Linked DNA regions of Homo sapiens: region 1 is linked to region 2. Evidence: promoter capture Hi-C in 16 types of primary human blood cells and fetal thymus (Javierre and others, 2016). All regions are on one chromosome and are shown on one strand. The core of a region is centred on a gene start or on the middle of the fragment in contact, and the rest is flanking DNA. Distances in the headings are between cores, read along the strand shown.

Evidence for each region. The method cuts DNA at HindIII sites, captures the fragments that hold promoters and counts their contacts. A CHiCAGO score of 5 or more calls a contact.
Region 1: the fragment with the promoter of PDE8B here is called in contact with the fragment with the promoter of S100Z in region 2 in 5 of 17 cell types (fetal thymus, erythroblasts, monocytes and 2 more); the score reaches 9.2 in fetal thymus.

The regions. Positions count from the first base shown.
Region 1 is chr5:77,208,115-77,212,729 of GRCh38, forward strand. It overlaps PDE8B (phosphodiesterase 8B), which reads left to right and starts at 2,566. Exons shown (of 22, transcript NM_003719.5): 1 at 2,566-3,150. The coding sequence starts at 2,812. The HindIII fragment of the contact is 3,521 bases long and covers 850-4,370 here.
Region 2 is chr5:76,846,108-76,851,429 of GRCh38, forward strand. S100Z (S100 calcium binding protein Z) reads left to right here and starts at 3,907. Exons shown (of 5, transcript NM_130772.4): 1 at 3,907-4,048. The HindIII fragment of the contact is 3,987 bases long and covers 3,327-5,322 here.

The DNA.
Region 1 (4,615 bases), core at 1,316-3,815, 360 kb after region 2:
AACCTAAATTTGTTTCTGGGTGACTTCTAGCTTCATGATTCAGCTCCTAATGTTCTCCACCAGAAGATTGGTTGTAATTTCTGTTTCATCACAGTCTTCTTGCCTTTCAAAGCCTCAGTGAGTGACTGGTGCTTTTTTCTGGGTGGTTTCATTGCATTCCTAGAGAAAACTCTGAAAAAGTAGACATGTGTCATGAGAATATGCATGGCTGTAAATTTCAGTATGTGAAGGCTGTCATTGATAGCTCCATGAAAGGTAATGACTGAAATGCTATATGCATTATCACAGGTAAGCTTTAGGAATCATTAAACCCTGACTTGAACGTTACATCAGGGACTAGTATAGAGACTAGTGTTTTTGCAATTTAACTCTGATGTTGTTTTCCCAGGTCCTAAATTGTCCTTTGGAAGTAGAGCAGATGGTTGCTATGAGGCTTAGTTTTAAATGAATGACTGTCCCCATATCTCAGTCTCAGCCATTTAATGTGGTGTTCTTACAGGCATGGATGGGACAAGGAAACATGGATCTCAGCAGCCTGGAAGGGAACTGTGGGTGGAGGCTATGATGCCAGGAAAGGACTTACTCCTCCAGCTACTGGGAGTGCTGCCAGCAGAAAGCCCTTGGCTCAGCTGACATCTCCTAGGGGCAGTGCCTCAGCTGAAGAGAGCCACCTTGCCCAAGGTCGCTGAGGTGGCCTGCATGTAAAGACTGGTCCATGCTGGGGTATAAAGGCCCACCAGAACAACTCAGAACCCAGCCCCAACTCAGAACAACTCTGAAGCATCATCCCACCTTCAGAATCCTCCCTGCAGGGATGCCTGAGGCTTGGTCAATTTCTCCCTCTGCTCAAGCTTGCCTCCCTCCATTCCCTCCCTTTATTTCCTCCCACAAATGTTGACTACAAGAGCACTTCCTAAAAAGCCTCCCTCTGCCTGCTAAACACCATCTCAGAATCTGCTTCTAGGAGGACCCAACCTGTGCAGAAATTTTATGAGCAATTTGCCTGTCCATTAAAAAATACAGCATAGACTTTTTCCAGGTTAGCTGGAGATGGAGTTTTTTTGTATCAAAAAAAGAGAGCTAAACTGAGAAGAGAAGCAAAGGTAGAAGAATAAGGTTAGACTCTCCCTGTATAACTGAATTTGGGATTGGGAATGATATCTTGCTTCTCTATGAAATTTAGAAACTGTCTTTTGAAGTCTTCATCCAGTCACATCCAAGAGTGGTCCAGGAAGAAAAAGGAAAATAAGAATGAAAAAAAAACAAAAAACAAACCTTAAAATTGGATACTTCTTTGTGCCTTGCATTAAGCCTCTATGTTACTGCCCTTGTCCGTATAAGCAACTCTAGATAAAATCCTTTCTTAGACCATCTAATTTATCTCCCCGTGCCATTGTGAAAATCGGGCAGGAATTACTGCGGGAACCAGTGACTGAATGGGCAGTGGTGTCTCGCAGCTGTAACTCAGAGTTTACAAGGGAAGGATGAACAGCAGCCATCCTTCTAAAGGCATTCTTCCTCTCCTCCAGCACAGCTCAGTCTGTGCATGCCTCACCAAGGAGAATGAGGGAAGGCCTTGTTGACTGCCCAGCCCAGAGTGTGAGGAACAGCAGTTGACATGGGCGGCTGGACGGGATAGAAACCAGCATGAACATTTAGTGACACCTAAGGAAGAGGTGAAAATGGGGGAGAAAGCCAAGAACCATCAGACAGCTTCTTTCTGTTCTTGCCTTGGATCTTAGGGGAACGTATGTGTTCAAGGGTGCCTTCCTCCGCAGGGCCTCCCATCCCTTGGCACAAACTTCCAAACGATGAGTAGACATGGAATGGGCTTCTTCTGAAGACTGGGTCACCATCCAACTCAGCCTTCGGAGTAGGCGGTGGGGCTGGGGGAAGAGGACGGAACCATGAGGTCTCTCCATCACTTCCCGGGTGTGTTGAGAGGCAAGCAAATGCGGTGGGTGGGCCTGGGCTGTAGGGCCCCTGCCATTTCGGGAGGGGCCTCCTGGTGTTTAGCTCTGGGATGTGTGAAAATGTGTTGGTGAAAAGCGAGAGGCTTACACAGCCCTTCAGGGGAAGAGGGGCTGGGGCGCTGGGGGCGGCGTCGGGATGAGTGCAGAAGAGACGAGGCCTCTGGACAGCGGAGGAGGAGGGGAGGGCGCCGAGGCGCGGTGCCAGCTGCCGCGCACAGGGGCCCCGCGGCGGAGCCGAGCCGCGGGCACGCTCTGCCCTGTCGGGAGAGCTCCGGGAGCGGCGGGAGGGGCGGAGGGGCGCAGTGGGGCCCGGGCGGCTGCGGCCGCGGAGCCGGGGCACCTGAGGAGGAAGGAGGGTGGGAGCGAGGGAGGGAGGGGACGGGCGCAGACCGAAAGTGGGGAAAGAAGGTGCAGGCAGGCGGGCAGGCGGGCGGGCGCCCTGGCCCAGGGCCGCGGGTGCGGGAGCCCGGCGAGGTCGAGCTGGGCGGCGGCGGGGGCCGCGCCGAGGGAGGAGGGGAAGGCGGAGGCGCGGGGAGCGTGTTTGGGGCGCCGCGGCGGGGAGGGTGGCGGCCGCTGGTGCGCGCGGGGCGCTGTGTATGCGCGCTCCCCCGCTCGGGGAGGAAGATGGCCCAAAAGGGAAAGTTGGGGTGACGCGCGCGGTCCCCGGAGGCTCGGCGGGGGGCACCGCGGCCAGCCCGACGGAGCGGCGGACACACAGGCCGGGGGGCGCGCAGTCCGGGCGCCGCCGCGGCCGCCCCCTCACTGCAGGTGGCAGCGGGTGCGCTGGGTCCCGGCGGCCGCGGGCGCGGGCGGGCGCGCGGGGGAGCCCGGCCGAGGGATGGGCTGCGCCCCCAGCATCCATGTCTCGCAGAGCGGCGTGATCTACTGCCGGGACTCGGACGAGTCCAGCTCGCCCCGCCAGACCACCAGCGTGTCGCAGGGCCCGGCGGCACCCCTGCCCGGCCTCTTCGTCCAGACCGACGCCGCCGACGCCATCCCCCCGAGCCGCGCGTCGGGACCCCCCAGCGTAGCCCGCGTCCGCAGGGCCCGCACCGAGCTGGGCAGCGGTAGCAGCGCGGGTTCCGCAGCCCCCGCCGCGACCACCAGCAGGGGCCGGAGGCGCCACTGCTGCAGCAGCGCCGAGGCCGAGACTCAGACCTGCTACACCAGCGTGAAGGTAAATGCCCCGCGCTGGCACACGCCGTGGGGGCCGTCCGCCCCGTCGGCGGGGCTCGCACGGGTAGGGGGCTCCGGCGGAGTTGGGTGACCGTGAGGCGGTTGGTTTGGAGAGGTTGTCACTAAGGAGGAGTTTACTTTTCATTTGTGGAGATGATGGGAGCCCAGGAAATGTGGTCAGAAAAAGGCCCCTGGAGGGGTCCTGGAAGCGTCCTTAGCTGGTCCTGGGGGACTGGGCGGGGAAGGGAGCGCAGAAGGAAGCAGGTGGGCTGGCCTGTTCCTCCTTGAGGGCAGGAAGGCTGTGGCTTGGTTTATGCAGGAAGAGGGGTGGGGACCATTGAGAGCATTCGGTGGCCAGTCCTGTTGAATGAAATCTGAGCACTGAGCTGGATTTGCGTGCCTTGTAGGTGACTGGTGCAGTTGCAGCACCAGGATAGATAGTGCCCCATATTCCGATTTTTACCTGGGATTACCAGCCAGGCTGGAGTCTCAGCACAGGAACCGAGCGTAGGGATTTGTGAATGAATGAGTGTTCGTGTTTTAAGAGATGTGGGAACGGAGCAGAGTGGAACCTGTTGTTTGTCACTGTAACGTTTCTCTGGGTTGGCTGCATCCTAGACAGAATTGAGAGAACCGGGCCATGAGTTCGGAGTGTCAGCAGAGCCACCGTGAGGGGACGTGGTTTCCAGTGCAGTACAGCTGTCTGAGGATGATTCTGCACATACAACTGATCTTCCCAGAGAGTGGGATTTTGAGGAAGTGGAAAAAATTGTTTAGATGGTTAAAGCAGTCGCTAAATATTTATTTCTTAAAGACAGAAGAAAAATAATTATTTAAATAGTGTCCTCCCGTATGTTCTCAAAGTACCGTTAAATCCAAGAGGCTTTTCATTGTGTAAATCTGGGCACTGGGTCTTTTTTCCTTTCAGCAAACAAGATAACAATGGCATATCCTATTGTACAGAGAGAAAAAAATACTCCTAATGTCAGATAGAATCACAGCCTTTACCTGGTCAATAGGTTACCAAGAACCATTCCATGGATTATTTGTCAAAGACACATTTGTATTTTTAATAGTTAAAAACTTGGTCTTCATTGGATGAAGGCAGCCCACAGTGGAGGAGTGAGGAGAAGGATAACATGTTTTGGCTTCAATCTGGAAGTCCAAAAGTTTTTTAATGAACCTATTTTTTTTTTAACAGCATCTGATTGTTTAACATGAAGCTTGACTGATGTTTGCTTGTGGTTGCAGTGTTTCTCTGGCAGTAATCATAATCACCATTATAGTAAAAACATCGTTTATTGAGCACCTACTATGTGCCAGGAGTAAGCTTTCTCTCCTAACTATTGAATGTTAACAGTGTGATCTTAGCATAGCATGTCTGAAGACTAGAGTCTAGGATTTATGACAGTACAAACCTACCAGTTGCCCATTCGTTACAGAGGCATGTGCTGAACGCTATACTT
Region 2 (5,322 bases), core at 2,657-5,156:
GCGTTTAATTATAGCTTCTATGTACCATCGGGTAGACTCAATTACCTAATCCCGAGAAAGCAGTTTTAGCCAAGCCTTATGTTGTGAACTCTTTCAGAGGCCACCTGGGCTCTTGCAGGGGAACTGTGTCTAGTTCTTACCAGTGGAAGTCAGACTTTTTTCTTTAACCAGAGATTTGTGTAAATGGGAGACTTTGTTAAAAATATAACAGATTTATCAGAATTTATGGCTTAAAAAATTGCAGCACAGGGAGGGAAATGATGGTGTTTATTCTAGTGACCATTTCTGTCCATTAAAACTGAAATTCTTTTTTTTTAATCTTTTTAAAAACTGTGTTTTTTTTTTTGAGACAGAATCTCGCTCTGTTGCCCAGGCTGGAGTGCAGTGGTATGATCTTGGTTCACTGCAGCCTCTGCCTCCTGAGTTCAAGTAATTCTCCTGCCTCAGCTTCCCTAGTAGCTGGGATTACAGGTTTCCGCTACCACACCTGGCTAATTTTTGTATTTTTAGTAGAGACGGGGTTTCACCATGTTGGCCAGGCTGGTCTTGAACTCCTGACCTCAAGTGATCCACCTACCTCGCTCTCCCAAAGTGCTGGCATTAGAGGCATAGGCCACGGTGCCCAGCCTAAAAACTTTATGTTTGTTTGTTTATTTTATTTTATTTATTTATGTATTTTTCTGAGAGAGAATCTTGCTCTGTCTCCCAGGCTGGAGTGCAGTGGTGCCATCTTGGCTCACTGCAACCTCGGCCTCCTGGGTTCAAGCGATTCTCCTGCCTTATCCTCCCAAGTAGCTGGGATTACAGGCGCCCACCACCACGCCTGGCTAATTTTTGTATTTTTGGTAAAGACTGGGTTTCACCATGTTGGCCAGGCTGCTCTAGAATTCCTGACCTCAAGTGATCCGCCCACCTCGGCCTCCCAAAGTGCTGGGATTACAGGTGTGAGCCACTGCGCCCAGCCCTAAAAACTTTATTATGGAGGATTTTATACCCATACAGAATTAGGATTGTATAGGGAAACTCTATGTCTCCATCACTCAGGCCCAATATCCATCAACCTTTGGTCAATTCTGCCCCATCCTCCTCCCCATCCCGTTTATTCTGAAGCAAATCTCAGGAATCATATTATTTCACTCGTAAATGTTTCAGTGTCTAAGACAAGAAATTTAAAAATCATACCTCAAAAAATTTCTTAATATCAGATATCCTGTCAGTGTTCAAATTTCTACTCATCTCAATTATCATAAGTGGTTTCTTTTTTTAAAAAATCAGAATCTAAATAAAGCTCAGACATTGCAATTGGTTGATGACTTTTAAATCTCTTAATTTATCTCCACCCTCACCACTTGCTACTTACTTGTTGAAGAAACCAGGTTGTTTGTAGATTTTCCCCATAGTCTGGATTTTGCTGATTGCATCCAGAACTGGAAAGTGTGAAAGCATATTAGAGGAAATGAAAAGGCTCTGCCGATCGAGAACTCTGGTTATACAACTGTTCACAAGCACTTAGCAGGAACAACGAGGAATGCTAAAATTCTTATCACTGTGCCCTCTTATGTGGTGCCTGCCTCATGGTGATCTTAATGTTCTCCTAAAGATAGGGAAGAACAGGACCCTAGACCACAGTCTTGTGCTTGGGAGCTACACTTGGACAGGAATCACCACCCAAAACTGGCAATGCAGACAGATTACATGTGTTTTCTTCCGCAGATTTGTTCTGATCTCCCCAGACATCCGTCATTCTATAATCCTACAGTTTGGACCTTCTTAGTTTTCACTTTCAGGTGGGAAAGACTAGTAATTAATTAATTAATTAATTAATGCTTTTATAGAGACAGGGTCTGGCTCTGTCACCTAGGCTGGAGAGTAGTGGTTGCAATCACAGCTCACTGCAGCCTCAAACTCCTGGGCTGAAGTGATACTCTCAACCCCAGCCTCCTGAGTAGCTGGAACCACAGGTGTGCACCACCATGCCCAGCTAATTTTTAAAAAAAAATTTGTAGAGATGGTGTCTCCCTATGTTGCCCAGGCTGTGTTGAACTCTTGGGCTCAAGTGATCCTCCCACCTCTGCCTCCCAAAGTGCTGGGATTACAGGCTTGAGGCACAGCACCCAGTCAAGAGGTTTTTGGGTTTTGTTTGTTTTTTGAGACGGAGTCTCACTCTTGCCCAGGCTGGAGTGCAGTGGAACAATCTTGGCTCACTGCAACCTCTGCCTCCCGGATTCAAACAATTCTCCTGCCTCAGCCTCCCGAGTAGCTGGGATTACAGGCGCACACCACCATACCTGGCCAAGAGTAGTTATTTTGGAAAGAGAGACGTTTCAATCTTCAGAACATATCTTTGGCCGGGTGCGGTGGCTGGTGCCTGTAATCCCAGCACTCTGGGAAGCCAGGCTGGGAGGATCACTTGAGCCCAGGAGTTCAAGACTAGACTGGGCAAGCAACATGGTGAAACCCCATCTCTACAAAAAAATACAAGTATTAGCCAGGTTGTGGTGGCATACCCTGCAGTCCTAGCTATTTGGGAGGCTGAAGTGGGAGGATCACTTGAGCCTGGGAGGTTGAGGTTGCAGAGAGCTGTGATTGTGTCTCTGTACTCTACCCTAGGCAATGGAGCAAGACTCTGTCTCCAAAAAAAAAAAAAAAAAATTTATCTTTGAATTCTTTCTTTCAATATATTGTTATCTGTATTTCTGTACTGAGTGCTGTGCTTCTTGACCTGTCTCTGCCCTTTTCTGTGTATTTATTTATTTAATTGACAAGTAAAAATTGTATATATTATGGTATACAAATACAGCTTGATGTTTTAATTTATGTATACATTGTGGAATTATTAAGTCAAGCTATTTGACTTAATTGCCCCATATACTTGTCATTTTTTGGGGGTGATAAAGACACTTAACATCTACTGTCTTAGCAATTTTCGATACACGATATATTGTTATTAACTATAGATAGCATGCTGTACAATGGGAGCTCTTAAACTTATTCCTCCTGGGCCAGGCGCAGTGTCTCACGCCTATAATCCCAGCACATTGGGAGGCCAAGGTGGGCGGATCACTTGAGGTCAGGAATTCAAGACCAGCCTCACCAACATGGTGAAACCCCATCTCTACTGAAAATACAAAAATTAGCCAGGCTTAGTGGTGGGCGCTTGTAATCTCAGCTACTTGGGAGGCTGAGGCAGAAGCTTGAACCAGGGAGGTGGAGGTTGCAGTGAGCTGAGATGATGCCACTGCACTCCAGCCTGGGTGACAGAGCAAGACTCTGTCTCAAAAAAAAAAAAGAAAAAAAGAAATGCTGTGAGGAATTATTAGCCATGAAGCTTCAGCAGGCAGGTTAGGTAGCTTTTCCAGTCACATACTGGTGAAGTAAGGATTTGAACCCCAAGACTCTGGTGCCAGAGTAATTGCTCTTCACCATGAGGAGGCACCAGTGGGGGAGTGTTGGATCACAAGCAGTTTCTTTTTCTTTTTTTTTTGTTTTTTTGAGACGGAATCTGGCTCTGTCACCTAGTCTGGAGGGCAGCGGCGAGCTCAGCTCACTACAACCTCTGCCTCTCAGGTTCAAGCGTTCTCCTGCTTCAGCCTCACGAGTAGCTGGAATTACAGGCGCCCGCCACCATGCCTGGCTAATTTTTATATTTTTAGTAGAGATGGGGTTTCGCCACGTTGACCAGGCTGGTCTCAAACTCCTGACCGCAAGTGATCCACCCACCTCAGCCTCTCAAAGTGCTGGGATTAGAGGCATGAGCCACTGCACCCAGCGCAATTTCGTTAGAGACTTGGTGCCTTCCCATTTCTTTTACTCAGCAATATACCAGCTTTAGGTCCTAAATTAAACCTCTTCCTGCTTTCCCACCTGATGAAGAAACGTGCCTGCAGTGTGGTGAGTCTGGACCACGCAGACTCAGAACAGCACTACTCACAGCAGGGCCTCTTGCTCGCTCTAGCTGCTGGGAGGAAAACGGCTTGCTAATCTCCACGCCCAGAAATTCAGACAAGAGCATTCTCCTTATCTCATCTGCACAGGAAGCAGGTCTAAGGTAAAAGATTATTTTTGTGGAAGATTCTTGCTTTTCAGTCTAGTGGTTGAAGTGTGAGCCTGGCAGGCGTTGGATTAGAGAGGGCAACAAGAGTGGAGGTTGTGAGGTGGGGGGTTGCCTTGGGGCTTCCACTCTAAAATGTGGCCTTACCTTGGCCACAAAGGGGTCGGGGGGGTGGGGGAGAGAGAGAGAGAGAGAGAGAGGGAGAGAGCAGCCTGATCATAGCTCGGAGCGTAGAGGTTCTGGTAAGTTCCTTGCCCTAAAGAACACTTAGTTCATTCTGGCTCCTTTCCTGGTGACCATCCTGGCTTCCTGCTTGGCCTTCACCTCACCTTGAGAAATTCAAGTTTCATGTTCTTGTCCAGGCCAAAGACCCAGAAGAACCTTCAAGGTGAGGCTTGGCCCCTTAGATCCACGCCGTGATTTCGCTTCTTTTTCCTGAAGCCTGCACAGATGCCAGTGTAAGCCCACTCCCAGGAAGTCACAGCAGTGGTCTATGCTCCTCCTCTTCACACTGGCCAGTGCTGGGCATGCCTGGACAATCAGCCCTGGAATGGCTGCTCTCAGCCTACAGAAGAAGAGAGGGAAGAGGGATGGAGGGGCTGGGGAGAAGTTGGTGAGAGGACACAAAATTTGGGTTAGACAGAGAAATAAAGTTTTTTTTGTTTTTTGTTTTTTTCTGAGATGGAGTTTCACTCTGTCACCCAGGCTGGAGTGCAGTGGTGTGATCTCAGCTCACTGCAACCTCCACCTCCCACTTGGCTTCCCAAAGTGCTGCGATTACAGGCATGAGCCACCGCTCCCCAGCCTCCTCATGGGATTTTTGAGGATGACATAAAGGAATACATTTAAACTGCCTAGAAGGGTGCTTGGCCCAGAGTATGTGCTAATTAACGTTGGCTACTATTATTTTCCTTCAACCCAGTGCCGGTGCAGGTCTAGAGGAAAGCATGAGGTGATACAGGGGCACCCAGAGGCGGAGTGCTCCCAGGAGCTGAGGGGCATCGGAGGCTTCCCTGGAGGACTGGCACCTGAGCAGAGGAATGGGCAGCACAGTGGCAGTGCCACGTGTGCGGCACAGATGGTGCAGAGGGGATGGGTGGGCACACTGCGGGGAGTTTAGATTTAGCCAGGGGATGGCAGGGCCTGTCCAGGAGGTTAAGTGAGGAGCTCAGGTGTGCCTCCCAGCAGGCAGGGGAGGCTAATTTTGAAGAAGAGCAAAGTAGGTGCAGGAGGTGAGTTGGGATCTCATGCAGTAATTCAGGCCAGAAGTG